Linked DNA regions of Homo sapiens: regions 2 and 3 are each linked to region 1. Evidence: promoter capture Hi-C in 16 types of primary human blood cells and fetal thymus (Javierre and others, 2016). All regions are on one chromosome and are shown on one strand. The core of a region is centred on a gene start or on the middle of the fragment in contact, and the rest is flanking DNA. Distances in the headings are between cores, read along the strand shown. Region 1 holds the start of B3GALNT1 (beta-1,3-N-acetylgalactosaminyltransferase 1 (Globoside blood group)). Region 2 overlaps LINC02067 (long intergenic non-protein coding RNA 2067). Region 3 has its middle 34 kb from the start of LINC02067.

Region 1 (4,551 bases), core at 1,282-3,781:
CAAAGACATTTCCCAAAAGAGGGTTCTACCTGCATCATCCAATGGTGGATGGAACAAAGCTGGAGGCTGGGCACAAGAAGAAGAGACATCATCCATCCAAAGGGGAAAGAGAAAAAGTACTCAATGGAGCATTTTCTTAGGCATAAAGGGAATTGAGTCAGAACTTGAAGTTGAATATGACCCACCAAATTAACTTTTTATAGTTATTGGGTTTTCCTGAAGAACCATGGTATTTTAATAATTCAATTTTTTAGAAAATATATATATTATTAGAGCCGGGTGAGGTGGCACACACCTGAAGTCCTCGCTACTCTGCAGGCTTAGGTAGGAGGATCATTTGAGCCCAGGGGTTCCAGTCCAGCCTGGGAAACATAAAGTGGCCTTGTCTCTATTTTTCAAGCAAGAAAAAAGAAAAAAATATATTATCCAAAATGGCTTAGTAGAGCTTCACTCTTGAATTTCTTCAAATCCTCTGATGAAAGAATCGTACTAGAATATACAACAAACTTCGTGGCTGCATCAACGATACTTAAAACCTTGTAAAGGGCATTATTATGGGCATTTTTAACCAATTAGGATAATTTATAAGTTAAAAGTAGATGAACTTACCTGTGGAATTCCAGATGAAATTAAAGCTTAAGTTTTTTGTTGTTTTCTGTATTCCATGCTTAATTAAAACACTCAGATCTGTTGTGAACTACTGAACAGAAGAACAGAAAAAAATATATATGAGTCATAACATTAGGAATTATGACATCTAAAATCAATGTTGTATACTTAGCAAGTTGTTTTTGGAGCCATTTATTACATATCAACACTTTTTTCATTTTTGGAAAAGCCTTGATCCTCTCTTCTCGCTTTCAAATCACCTCATGCTCTAATCTGAAATTATACTTGGACACTGTTTTTTTGTTTTTTGTTTGTTTTGGAGATGGAGTCTCACTCTGTTGCCCAGGCTGGAGTGCAATGGCACAATCTCGGCTCACTGCAACCTCTGCCTCCCGGGTTCGAGCAATTCTCCTGCCTCAGCCCCCCGAGGAACTGGGATTTCAGGTGTGTGCCACCACACCCAGCTAATTTTGTATATTTAGTAGAGACGGGGTTTCACCACGTTGGCCAAGCCGATCTCGAACTCCCGACCTGAGGTGATCTGCCCGCCTCGGCCTCCCAAAGTGCTGGAATTACTGGCGTGAGCCACCGCGCCCGGCCTGGATGCTGTTTTGACAACAGTGTTTATTTTCAGGTCTGGAGTTATCCAATGGCCATTCATTTGAACGAACATTTTAGTCTATGAGGGGAAAAAAGTCATAGTCTCTTATCTGTTAGTAATAAACGATTCTGTTCTCCAGACTGATACGCGTTCAGTAATTTGTGCTTTTATCAGGCATCGACACATGCATACTAAGAGCACAAATTCAGCGCCCTTCTTTTGCTTAAGCCTCCTGGGAGAAGCTAAAAAACTTGTTCCCAGTTGAACACTGCAAACCCAAATTTTCCTTACCTCTGAAAACAGAAAAAAAGACATGGTTTGGCAATTTCTTCCTTGATAGCTTTTCCCACAACGCAGCCACCTCCTAAACGCAGGCAATCTGTGCAAAACGCAGAGGAAACAAAATCATGAAAGCCCTGCAAATCTCCCTCCTAAATCCAACATTAAGAAGGCGAACGGATACTGAATTCAAAGACTACCCGTACTTGAGGATGGCATCATTCCTTACTGCTTGGAAAAGTGAGACTCCGTTGCACCTCTAGGAATCTTTTTAAAACGCCCTGTATGTTCCTTAACACTGCCTGTAGGAATCCTGTAGCCCTAGCCCCGTGGGATTTCCTTCTCTCTCCGCCCGTTCTCCACATTCCCCACTTAGTTTCACATTCCTTCCCAATCCCTCCGACATCCCTGCGCCGGGGCCCTTCCCTAGCGCTCCGGGAAAGCGTTCGCCGCAGGCCTGTTAGGGGCCCACCAATACCGTAACACCGTTCCCGTCCTCTTCCTCGGCACCGCTGCAAACGCCCCGGGTCGCTACCCGGATTTGACGGTGGCTGGAGCGGCACGGGCGACGCAAGGCAGGTATTGCACCCTGGGGCAAGGCAAGGTGGACAACCAGCGGATGCGGCGCGGCCGCGGCCTGGGCCTGGGCCCTCCGCGTCGCCCACTGCCCCACTGGGCCCCTTCTCCCGCGCTCACCGGAGGCGGGCAGCTGCTCGTCACCGAGACCCGAGACCCACGGTGCGGCGGCTCAACCTGGGCCACGCTCCGCTCTAGAGGAGTGGGCGGTGCCTCCCGGCCTAGCTGCCGGGGTCTAGGCGTTTCCGAGGACGGCGCGTTCCGGGAAAGGCGGGTCCGGTGGCTATACCCTCCACCCAGTGGCAGGACTCAACCGCCTCGGAGACCCTGCAGGGCCGCCCTTCTCACTCACCTCCTGTGCTCGGCGCGCACCCAGCTCGGAAGCGGGAAGGTGGCCGGCGTTCTCTCCCTGCGCACACACGCAGCCTCCCCGCATCCGCACGCACGGCCGGGCGCGCGCAGACCACGCGCCAGGGCCGCGGCCGGAAGCCCCTGGCTGCACGCGCGGGCCCAGGCGGCCCCCAGCCCTGTGAGCTCGCATGGCGCGCCCTCTGGGTCCTCGCGGTCACCTTGCATTCCGAGCACGGCCGTGTTATGTATGCCTTTAGTTGATGCTGGCCAAAATTAGACAACTTAGTGGCAGACGTCGAGCTAGAATTTTTGTTTGAGATCCTTTTTCCCTGGTCGTCTTTCCAAACTGCGTGAGTGCATGGCCTCGAGGCGGCCCTGGAGGGATTTTCTTGTTAAACTTCATACAGAACTAATTAGGAAAGAGGAAATCTTAGGAGGAGTTCTTTGCTGTCTCAGAAGAAATGCCAGTTCTTCTTCCGGAATCGATGGGGAATGGAATGGGGGTAAGAGAGACACGTCAGGTTTCAATGGCCTGTGTATGGATGGGAGTCCCAGGGAGTTGCTTTTGTACACCTGAGCATAGCTGACCTAAACTCCCAGATCCATCTCCTCAAACTCCTTTTACCAAGATGTGCAGTATTGATTGTACTGGTCCTTTCCTCAAAATCAAGTGGGTCTGGATCATGTATTTAACCACTACCAAGCTCAGCCATGAGCACCACCCCTGATTGTAACCCACACATTTGCATCAAGACTAAACGTGGCCCACCATTTCTTTTTGTTTACTGACTCTTTGGCCTGACTGCTTCTTCCTTATAGCCTTTTTCTGCAAAATTACTTAGGATAGTTTGAAGGTTCTCTGAAAATAATAGGGGTGAATATAGAGATCAAAATGGATATACAACAAAAGTAAGTTTAGATAGTAGCAGTGTAAGTCAAGGACTTAGTTGACACTGCATAAATAATCAGATCTAAATTATAATAATCAGATCTAAATTATGGTTGAGATTGTTTTCCTGGTTCCAGCCTTGGCAGGTAGCTGTGTCCTTTGCAGAGGGTAAAGTGATTGCTGCCCTGCTGCACGCCTTTATCACAGCCATTCTTCACCCTACCTGGGCTGACAGTTCACCTCACTAAGTCAAGGAGGTCCATTAATAACAAAACCAGACAGGTTTCACTGCAGATAGATTAATATGCTGAAAAAATAGACCTCTTATTTGGAAGAATGCTTTAGGGCATTAATACTATATTTTACAAATTCCGTTTCTTAAAATTTTAGAAAAGTTGTATTTCAATACTCATTTTTAAAATGTTTTGAATGTCCTTTGAGTAACCAGCAGGTATATGTGCTCATAGCTGCCAAAACTTCCCTGGAATGCAAAGCAGAGCCATGGACAACAGATTGGGGTAAGAAATTCTCCTAAATGAAGTAAGTGAGACAAAAAGGCCCAAAACCTTTATGAGATTATTTCCTTTGAAGCAGTCTCCTTTTTCTTTGTGTAGCATTTATCAGCTTGTGATTGAGTCATCTATTGCTGCAGATCGAACTCTCCCAAAATATAGTTGCTTGCAAAAATGTCAATTTAATATTTCTCATAATTCTGAAGGTTGGTTATGTGGTTCCTCTCTGGTTTTGATTTGGCTCACTCGTATAGATACATTCAGCTGTAGCAGGGGTTGGCCAAGTTTTCTGTAAAACAGGATCAGATAGTAAATATTTTAGACTTTGTCTCTGTCACATATTCTTTTTTATTTAATTTTTATAAACTATTAAAAACCCAAAGCTATTCATAGCTCAAGGGCCATACAGAAGCAGGCTATGGCCTACAGGCTGTAGTTTGCTGATCCCTGAACTGGAGAATCAGCTAAGCTGAAAGTCCAAGGTGGCCTCACTCATGTGTCTGCTGTTGGCTCCATGTGGCCTCTTATCCTGCAGTAGGCTATGTTTTTGGTCTGTGGGCAACATCCAGAAGAGAGCAGGCAGAAGCTGTAAAATTTCTTAAGGCCTAGACTTGGGAGTCACACAAGATCATATATGCCAAATTCTACAAATCAAAGCAAATTGTGAGGCCTCTCCAAATCCAAGGGGCAGGCAAATAGTCTCTGCCTCTTGATGGAAGGAGCTGCAGATAATG
Region 2 (4,791 bases), core at 1,590-4,089, 340 kb after region 1:
TAAGCCACATCCATTCCATTTTTACATTTTTACAGTAAATCCAAACCGTTTTTACAGTTTCCCTTACCATTCAGATTCTCATCACATTACTTAGGCAATTAAAGTAATGCCCTACTAGGACTCCTTGTGCCCAGCCTACCACTAAACACTAAAATTTGTGTTTTTATTATACCCCTCTGCTTTAAACAAATAAAAAAATAGCAAATAAAAGCCCCATGCCTGCAAAAGTCCATCGCCACCTAAAGAAGTTGTTCTCAAATACTAGCATGAGTAAGAATCACCTGGAGGGCCATGAAAAATACAGATCCCCAGGCCCTGCCCCTGATGATCTGATTTATTAGATCTGAGGTAGTGCCCAAGAAACTGCATTGTCAAAAAGCTCCTCTGTAGCAGGTGGCTCTTGCTGACTTGTAGGATTAAGTCCATCTTCCTTGAGTGGGTCTTTAGTGCTAGCTCCATCTGACTGCAGCCTTTTCTTAACCTTTCTCCACTATGCAAGCCTTCTGCTTTTTGACAGACAGCAATCCATTGTCACCAAGCACACACTATGCCAGGAGTTTTAAAGCCATGGCCAATGAGTTACCTTCTAGGGGACATATCAGGAGTTTAAAAACCAGGTATACAAATACTTAGACTTAAAATTTTTTTTCAAATTTTCTTCCTGTTTTTCAGAAAATGGTATTATGAAAAAATGTTTTATGTTAATATATAAAATTACATTATTGTGGTTTGTTTCAGCTCAAATATCTTGTACTGCAACTGTTTACGAGCTAAAAATGGATTGTTATCATGTCATATAATCTAAGATTTATTGATTAGAATTAAAGCAAATGTGCTCTGCCATTATGATTATTAATATTTTTGTTTGTTTGTTGATATTGGGTCTAACATACAATTAGAAAATGTTGAAGAAAATAAAATGTGACTATAAATATAGTAGCTTGGAAAACCTAACACTCCTAAACTCTTCAAATTAAATATATACACACTCACCACAAAGATGCACAAACATACAAACTTAGATGATTCCTTCTGAATGCCTAGGTTACCTCTATTTTTCTTCCCTTAAGTAAGCACATCTTTCGAATCTAATAAATGCTTGTGATTTCAGGCAAAGAATTAATAGGAAGGTATCTCAATAGAAGATAAGAAATCAGGACGTAATACTCTTTTTATCTCCCTTTCCCCACCTTTGGATGGCATTTGTAATTTTAGTTTACTTTAACTTCCCATGCCTGTCTATGCCACAATAATATTTGAAGACAATGAAAAAATACCAGGCTAACTTTAATGCCCCAATCTAGCCACTGCTAACCAGCCGTGGAATTCCTATTAAGTGACCATAGGCCATTTTGAATGTTAGATCTATATAAAACTGCAAAACTGACTTTTATAAAGGAACAATTGGCTCAAGCTTCTGTGTTCTCTTTCCTTACTGTGATCTGTAGCTAGATGCCAGGCCCATGGATATAATGCAATGGTGACAAAAAAGGGCTGGCTCAGGATAGCCCAGTCTACCAATGGTACCATAGCAGACACTTGAGGCTCATAGCAATGGAACTCCTATTGTACCAAATTTCCTATGAGTCAAGTGTACAAAAGTATAACATAAGTATCATTCTCCCTAAGATCTAGAAAGGTTTGACTTAGTCTCTATTCCACACTCTGTGGGAAAGTCCAGTGCTGTTCCCAAGATTTTTGTGGACTCTCTAGGGACACACCCTTGGGGCATCTCTGAGTCTGATTTCTTCTTTCTTGAGTTCTGGTTCTCCATTCTGTGCTTTGTGACTTTTTCTTTACCTCCTCTCTGGCATCAATCTGAGTGTGAAATCAGCTCTTTGTTTTCTTTTAAAACCCCACTCAATGTGTATGGATATAAAAGGAAACTCATTATCACAACATTTCAAACAAAGTAAGAGTGAGTATTAGGCATCTCTGCTCTTAAAATTGTTTTGGCCACTCTCTCCTACTTCTTCTACTCTTTCTCTCTTTCTCCTCCATCCAGTCCTTTCAGTAGAAAATAAAACAATTTCCCCCCAACTCATCCCCCAAACCTTCACCCCTTTCTCTCAATTGTCATTCTCTTCAAACACACATTCTGGCCTACCTTTAGCACGGGACTCAGCAGAAACTCAGAAATCACCCCATTATTAGAGGTTCACAAAATTACTTTCTTGCGTGTGGGTTATAGGATATTCTTTTACTGCTTCATATAAAATTTGTGTCTGTATGTATGGTTTTATTACAAAATTAATAAACTACTCTGATTTGAATGATAAGTCATTGAAATTGCTATACCTGCTTTTGGCAAATGCAGAAAAAATATTAGGGTTCAGATAGAGTTTGTTGCCCAAATTTCACTTCCATTCCTCCTTTATTGTAGAGTTCTGGCAGAAGGCAATACACAAAGATTGGGAGCTAGAAAGAAAACAACATGACTATTTATTAAATGATTATAATTACCAATGTACCTGTTATTGTCTGGGAGTACTCAGGCCTATACCTGTCTTGTACCACTGGGGCAGAACTCCTGAGAACCACCTTTCCCAGACCCCCTTGACAGCTGGTTTCCAGTTTGGTTCTTCTAATGGGATGGACTCCTGTGTGATGAGAGGGAGCGGGTAGAAGTCACTTGAAGGCCCTAGACTTCTGGTTCCAGCTGCATTGCTGACATGCACCTGTGAATGCTTGCAAGGTGCCAGTGGCAGGAGTAGTGGCAGCAGCAGCAGTGCATGTGTGCTCTGTGATGGCTGCCCACTGCTTAGGGCAGACCAGTGTGGCCTCCTGCAGGTCCTGGTCTCTGAGAGACATTACTTTCCCCTCTTGTCTTCCTCTAGGCCTTCCAATAGTATAGTAGCTTAATTCTCTGGATTAGGTTCTTTTCTGTTTTAAATAATTAGAGAGCTTTCTATTTTCCTGATTGAATCCTTGACTAATATCCCTCTATAATATGGCTGTTCTGGTAAGCTAAGTTAGAGGACAGGAGAGCTACTAAGGCCCGAGGCTTGAACAGGCTTTTTCAGAACTAAGATGGCTGGATCTGAAGAGAAGATTTTGAGCAGACTTATCTTCCCAGTCTAGGGAGGAGCTGCTGGAATGCAGAAAACGTTATGAACTTGCTCCAAAGAACCAGAGCCACATACACGTGCTAATTAGACTAAAAAACAGAATAGAAGAGAAACACCAGAACATGGCTGCTAGCCTTTTAAGAAAAAGCAGCCTCAGCGGCTCATAAAATGCAGGCCAATGACCTATCCATTGATAATCTTCTTCTTCTAGGAAGAAGAGTAAGGGGGAATGTGTGGAAGTACCCAACATGGATGGGGAGAGCTGGAAACGTCTGCCTGCTCTGAGCTGTGTTGGAAACCTGAGGAGGTGGGAGAAGCTGTTTCTGCTTATAACAGAAAACTGAACTCATTCTATCAGCCTAGCAGGAATGAGAAGAGGCTTATATTTTGTAATTGAGATACTCACATGGTTAAAATGATGAAATGTATATTTCATTGGGTTTCTCTTTTATCACCAACACAAAAGCTGGCATGATTCCTGTGTGGCTGAGTTCTTGTCAATGGTATCCCAAATCCCAAACAAAACCAAGGAGATACTTCATGTCTGACCATTCTGAAACTCATTGGAAAGTGTGAATCTTTTTCTTGAAACAAAGACTTGATTTGAAACAGCCAGGATTTTATACACACTCATATTTGACCCTAAATAAAAGCCTTGACTTGATGCCTGTTAGAATGCTAATTGGGCACCAGGAAAGAAAGAAACTACTCACATCGAGAGATCTTGATGAAACCGTGTGCCCTGGGAATAGTCAAGCTAGGAGTAGCATGGGGCAGGGAAGATAATTGAAGTAGTGTCTTTCCTAAATTACACAATTCTCTATGTAGCTGTTGACATTTCTCCTAATGTTTCATGACTGATCATAAAGTCAACACTAGTTTCTTCCACAGTGTTTTTCAGTGTAGCCAGCTCCTATTGATTGTCTATTGTGTGCATTCTGATGCTATCCAAGAAGTCCCATTTTGTGAACCTCTTTTGGAAACTGTAAAGGTTGTCAACAGTTTCAAAATGATGCAGTGTTTCTTAGCCAAGCAAAATTTGCCTGAAAGAAAAATCTCAATTTCTTGTGTGCAGACAGGACCCCTGTAATGCTTGGCACCACCCTGCGCTTTACTGCTTGGTAACATGTCAGGGTGATTCACTGTTGTTGACATGGGCATGCATTGGCATCAAAAGCCTTTTCAAAATTTTTGAAGGAAGCTTTGCTTACTGCTATGAAAAGTGTTAAATTTATAACGGCATCATTTCAAGATGTTTTGTCAAGAGATGGGAGCAAGATACAAAGTTCTTCTCTATTCCACCATTTACTGGCTTTCCCAAGAGCAAATCTGGTAATAAGTGATTGAATGTCACATGGAACTTTCCTTTTCTTGAGAGAAAAAGAAAGTAAATCTACTTTTAAAATAATTTTGGCATGAGAATAGCTCGCTTGTGGCTTGACTTACATAACAAATATTTTTGGTTACATACTTAAGGTAAATCTTTCGATTCCGGGTTCTGCAGTGACAATGGGTGCTACTGAAAAATTACAAGCTCTTTGACTAAGCTGTTGCTAGAGGTGGGCAAGTATGTGAACTTTTTGATACTGGATGAAGATATACTTTTGTACTCTGGAAATGGGAAAGCCAAGGAGATAGTGATATATAGATTCCTGGCAATGTGGCAGAGTTCTTTTGAAAGTTATTTTATTTAAACAACCTTAAAATAGGAATCTGGATTTGC
Region 3 (4,803 bases), core at 500-2,999, 350 kb after region 1:
ATATATATATATGTTATGTTTTAAAAATCCATTCAACTGTTGGTGGATATTTAGGTTGTTTCTTCATATTGGCTTTGTGAATAGTCCTGCAATGAATATGAGAATACTAATATCTCTCTGAGATCTTGATTTCAATTCTTTTGGGTAAATACCAAGAAATGAGATAGCTGGATATTATGGTAGCTCTATTTTTAAGGCTTAAAGAAGCCTTCATACTGTTTTCCCTAATGGCTGCACCAGTTTTCATTTCCACCTACAGTGCACCAGTTTCTCCACATCCTTGCCAACAATTGCTGTCTTTTGTTTCTTGATAGTAGTCATCCTAAAAAGTGTGAGATGATATCTCATAATAGTTTTGATTTGGATTTAGCTTTTGTTGAGTACCTTTTCACGTAGCTGTTGGCTATTTGTATGCCTTCTTTGGAGAAATGTCTCTTCAAGTCCTTAGCTCATTTATTTAATTGGGCCATTAGTTTATTTTTTGCTATTGAGTTGTAGGAGGTCCTTATATGTTTTAGAAATGAAACCCTTATTATACATATTGTTTGTAAATAATTTCTCACATCTGTTGGCTTCCTTTTTGCTCTCTGTTTTAAAATTTTTATTTAATTATTTATTTTGAGACTGAGTTATGAGACTTGCTAAGTTTTGCATTTTTAACAGCGATGAGGTTTCACCATGTTTCCAAGGCTGGTCTTGAACTCCTGGGGTCAAGGCATCTACCCACCTTGGCCTCCCAAATTGCTGAGATTACAGGCATGAGCCATCACCCCCAGCCCCTTTTTGCTCTTTTGATTGTTTCTTTTGCTGTGCAGAAGCTTTTTAGTTTGATGTAGTTTGTTTATTTTTGCTTTTGGTGTAATATTCGTAAAATAATTGACAGACCAATGTCATGTGAAATAAATCAGTCACAGAAGGACAAGTTGTTCATGATTTCACTTGTATGAACTATCTAAAATAGTCAAATTCATAGAAGTAAGGAATAAAATGGTGATTGCCAGGGCTTAGAGGAAGGGAGAAATGGTGAGTCATTAATCAATAGGCCCAAAATTTTGGTGACACAAGATGAATGAGTTCTAAAGATCTGATGGGCAACATTATGCATATAGATAATAATATTGTATGGTGCACTTAAAAATCTATTAAGAGGGTAGATCTCATGTTAAGTGTTCTTACCATAGAAAATTATAAAAGCATGTCTGGGAAACACTAAAAAAAACTTCAACCCAAACCAAATGAAACAAAAATCCAAAAAAAAAATGACAGATGGCCAGTGGGTGAATAAAAACCCCAGCATCCTAACCCATCAGGTGGAATAATTCTGAAGTGTGTTCCACACTGTCCCTGAGTTCTCAGATGGTATTGAGACGTTTTTGTCCATAGGAATAATCTCCCTGATAACTCACCATATATATGTTTCCTTCCCTGCCCTGTCTCACTTCCCACTCCTCCTTTGGTCCTATTGAGCACAATAAACTATTTGTACTTGTTGGGGCTCAGGACATACCACCCCAAAATATGAATGTGAGTAACCAGAACATGCCACCCCAAAATACACATCTTTAGCATATTTCGCACAGGTTATTTTGAGAAACTGCAGATACAGGAGTAACTCCTAAAAGCTTCCCTTTTATAAAGAAAATTTGCAACTATAAAGTAAATCTGCATTAGTAAAGATATCTGCATTAGTAAAGATATCTGCATCAGGAAGAGGGCTGCTCCAAGACAACTTTTCTTATCTGAGAGACTTTTTATCTGTATAATAAGACAGATTTTATTCACTATACATTTTCTCCCCTCAGCTTCCCATAACTTGTTTCTACCATTCTCCATAGACCCCAAGCCTTTATTCTTTGCTGAAATTCAGGATGCTATATAAGCTTTAATTATCTGAGCTTCTTTGGGTTTCATATTTTGTGGGATTTCCATGTGTATGCATGTAATTAAAATGGTTTTTCTCCTATCAACCTGTCTTATGTTGATTTATCTTTATTGTATTTATTTTTAAAAATTTATTTTCAATTATCATGTAATAATTGTACATATTTATGGGATACAGAGTAATATTTTGTTACATGTATACAATGTGATTATAATCAGAGTAATTACCATATACATCACCTCAAAGTTTTATTATTTCTTTCTATTGGGACCATTGAAAATCCTCTCTTCTGGCTATTGGAGAATATATAATCAGTTATTATTAACTGTAGTCACCCTACAGTGCTATAGAACACTATAACTTATTCCTCCTATTTAGCCATAACTTTATATCCATTAATCAGACTCTCCTTGTTCTCCCTTCCCCTCTACCCTTCATATTCTCTAATAACCACAATTCTCTTTTCTAATTCAGAACTCAACTTTTTTAGCTCCCACATATGAATGAGACTTGGGGGAATGTTGAGGAGAAATAATTGCATTTTGCAATGTGAGAAGGACATGAAATTTGGGAGGGACCAGGGGAAGAATAATATGGTTTGGATTTGTGTCCCTGCCCAAATATCATGTCAAATTGTAATCTCCAATGTTGGAGGAGGGGTCTGGTGGAAGGTAATTAGGTCATGGATGTAAACTTCTCCCTTGCTATTCTCATAATAGTGAGTTCTCATGAGATCTGGTTGTTTAAAAGTGTGTAACACCTCTCCCTTCTCTCTTTTCCTCCTGCTCCAGTTATGTAAAATGTGCCTCCTTCCTTTTTGCCTTCTGCCATGATTCTAAGTTTCCTAAGGCCTTCCTAGCCATGCTTCCTGTACAGTCTGTGAAACCATGAGTCAATTAGCCTCTTTTTGTATTGTAATGGAATTGTATTCTTAATTTCTTTTTCAGGTAGTTTGTTATTGGTGTATAAAAACAGTAGAAATTTTTGTATGTTGATTTTTTATCCTTCAACTTTGCTGAATTCATTTATTCATTCTAAGCATTTTTTCCTGATGAGGGCTTTAGGCCTTTTTATGTATGAGATTATGTCATCCACAAAGAGAGACAATTTGACTTCCTTTTTTTGCAATTTAGATGTTATTTCTTTTCTTTTGTCTTGTTGAATTGGCTAGAACTTTCAGTACTATGTTGAATAAGATTGGTGAAAGTGGACATCCTTGTCTTTTTCCATTCCAGTTTCATTCAGTATGATGTTAGCTTTGAGTTTGTCATATATAACCTTTATAGTGTTGAGGTATGTTCCTTCTATAACTACTCTGTTTAGAATTTTTATTATGAAGGGATGTTGAATTTTATAAAATGATTTTTTTCTGCATCTATTGAGATGATCACATTTTTTTTGTTCTTCATTTTGTTGATATGATAGATTGCATTTATTGATTTGTATATGTTAAGTCATCTTTGTATCCCTGGGATAAACCCCATTTGACCATGATGTATTATCTTTCTGTTGTGCTGCTAGAGTCAGTTTGCTAACATTTTTTTTGAGAATTTTTGAGTCTGTTTTCATTAGGGCTATTGGTCTGCAGTTTTCTTTTTTGTGTGTCCTTGTCTGTTTTTGGTATTAGGATAATGCTGGCCTCATAGAATGAGTTAGAAAGAATTCCCCCTTCAACTTTTTGGAATAGTTTGAGAGGAATTTGTTTTAGTTCTTTCAAAGTTTGGTAGAATCAGTAGTAAATTTATTTGGTTGTGGGCTTTTTTTGTTTTTTAAATTGGGAGACTTTTTATCACTAATTTAATCTTGTTACTCATTATTAGTAAACTCAGATTTTCTGTATCTTCCTGGTTCAATCTTTGTAGGTTATATATGTCCAGAAATTTATCTATTTCCCCTATGTTTTTCAACTTGTTGACAGTTTTTTCATAAACATTTCTAATTATCCTTCTTATTTCTGTGGTATAAGTTGTTCTTTCCTCGTCTTTTTAATTTTTGATTTTATCTATTTGGGTCTTCTCTCTTATTTTCTTAGTTAGTGTAGCTAGTTATTTGTCAATTTTGTTTATTTTCACAAAAAACAATTTTTTCATTGATGTTTTGTATTTTTTAGTTTCAATTTAAAAATTCTGCTCTAATTTTTATTTCTTTTTTTTCTACTAATTTTGGATTTGGTTTGTTCTTGTTTTCTGGTTCTCTGAGCTACATGATTAGGTTGTTTTTTTGAAATCTATCTACTTCTTTAATATAGGCGTTTATTGCTATAAACTTCTCTCTTGGCACTGCTTTTGCTGTATCCCATAGGTTTTGGCATGTTGTGTTTTAATTTTCATTTGTTTCAAGAAATTCTTAAATTCCCTTCTTATTCATCAACTTAGTAGTCATTCAGGAGTCTGTTTTTAAATGTATATGTATTTATATGTTTCCAAAGTTTCTCTTTTTATTAATTTCTAGAATTTTTCCATTTTGGTCTGAGAAAATAATTGCTATGATTTTGATTAAAATTTTTTTTGAGACTCATTTTTAGCTCTAATGTATGGCCTTTCCAATATCCCATGTGCTGATTAGAAGAATGTGTATTCTGCAGCTGTTTGATGAAATGTCCTGTAAATGTCTATTAGATCATAATGGAGTATAGTGCAGTTTAAATTGATGTCTCTATGTTGATTTTTTGTCTATATGACTTGTTCACTGCTGGGAGTAGGATGTTGAAGTTCCCAAATTTTATTTTATTAGGCCTTATCACTCTCTCTAGCTCTGATAATATTTGCTTTGCATATCTGGCTGCTCTGGTGTTGAGTGCATATATCTTTATAATTATATCCTCTTGCTGAATTGATTTTTAAATCATTATATAATAATATTTTTGTCATTTTTTGTGTTTTTTAAATTAAATCATTTTATGATAATATTTTTGCCACTTT

Evidence for each region. The method cuts DNA at HindIII sites, captures the fragments that hold promoters and counts their contacts. A CHiCAGO score of 5 or more calls a contact.
Region 2: a fragment that was not itself captured here is called in contact with the fragment with the promoter of B3GALNT1 in region 1 in 2 of 17 cell types (total CD4 T cells and naive CD4 T cells); the score reaches 6.7 in total CD4 T cells.
Region 3: a fragment that was not itself captured here is called in contact with the fragment with the promoter of B3GALNT1 in region 1 in 1 of 17 cell types (total CD8 T cells); the score reaches 5.6 in total CD8 T cells.

What each region holds. Positions count from the first base shown.
Region 1 is chr3:161,102,818-161,107,368 of GRCh38, forward strand. B3GALNT1 (beta-1,3-N-acetylgalactosaminyltransferase 1 (Globoside blood group)) reads right to left here and starts at 2,532. Exons shown (of 5, transcript NM_003781.4): 1 at 2,418-2,532; 2 at 1,502-1,589; 3 at 610-700. It overlaps LOC124909453 (a long non-coding RNA gene), which reads left to right and starts at 1,864. Exons shown (of 2, transcript XR_007096147.1): 1 at 1,864-2,068; 2 at 3,754-4,551. RefSeq lists silencers at 2,087-2,336, 2,347-2,436. The HindIII fragment of the contact is 4,654 bases long and covers 634-4,551 here.
Region 2 is chr3:161,440,322-161,445,112 of GRCh38, forward strand. LINC02067 (long intergenic non-protein coding RNA 2067) reads left to right here. Exons shown (of 4, transcript NR_102265.2): 3 at 3,280-3,375. Among named protein-coding and RNA genes, the nearest start is that of LINC02067, 16 kb to the left of the region's middle. The HindIII fragment of the contact is 2,855 bases long and covers 1,413-4,267 here.
Region 3 is chr3:161,457,562-161,462,364 of GRCh38, forward strand. No RefSeq gene overlaps it. Among named protein-coding and RNA genes, the nearest start is that of LINC02067, 34 kb to the left of the region's middle. The HindIII fragment of the contact is 258 bases long and covers 1,621-1,878 here.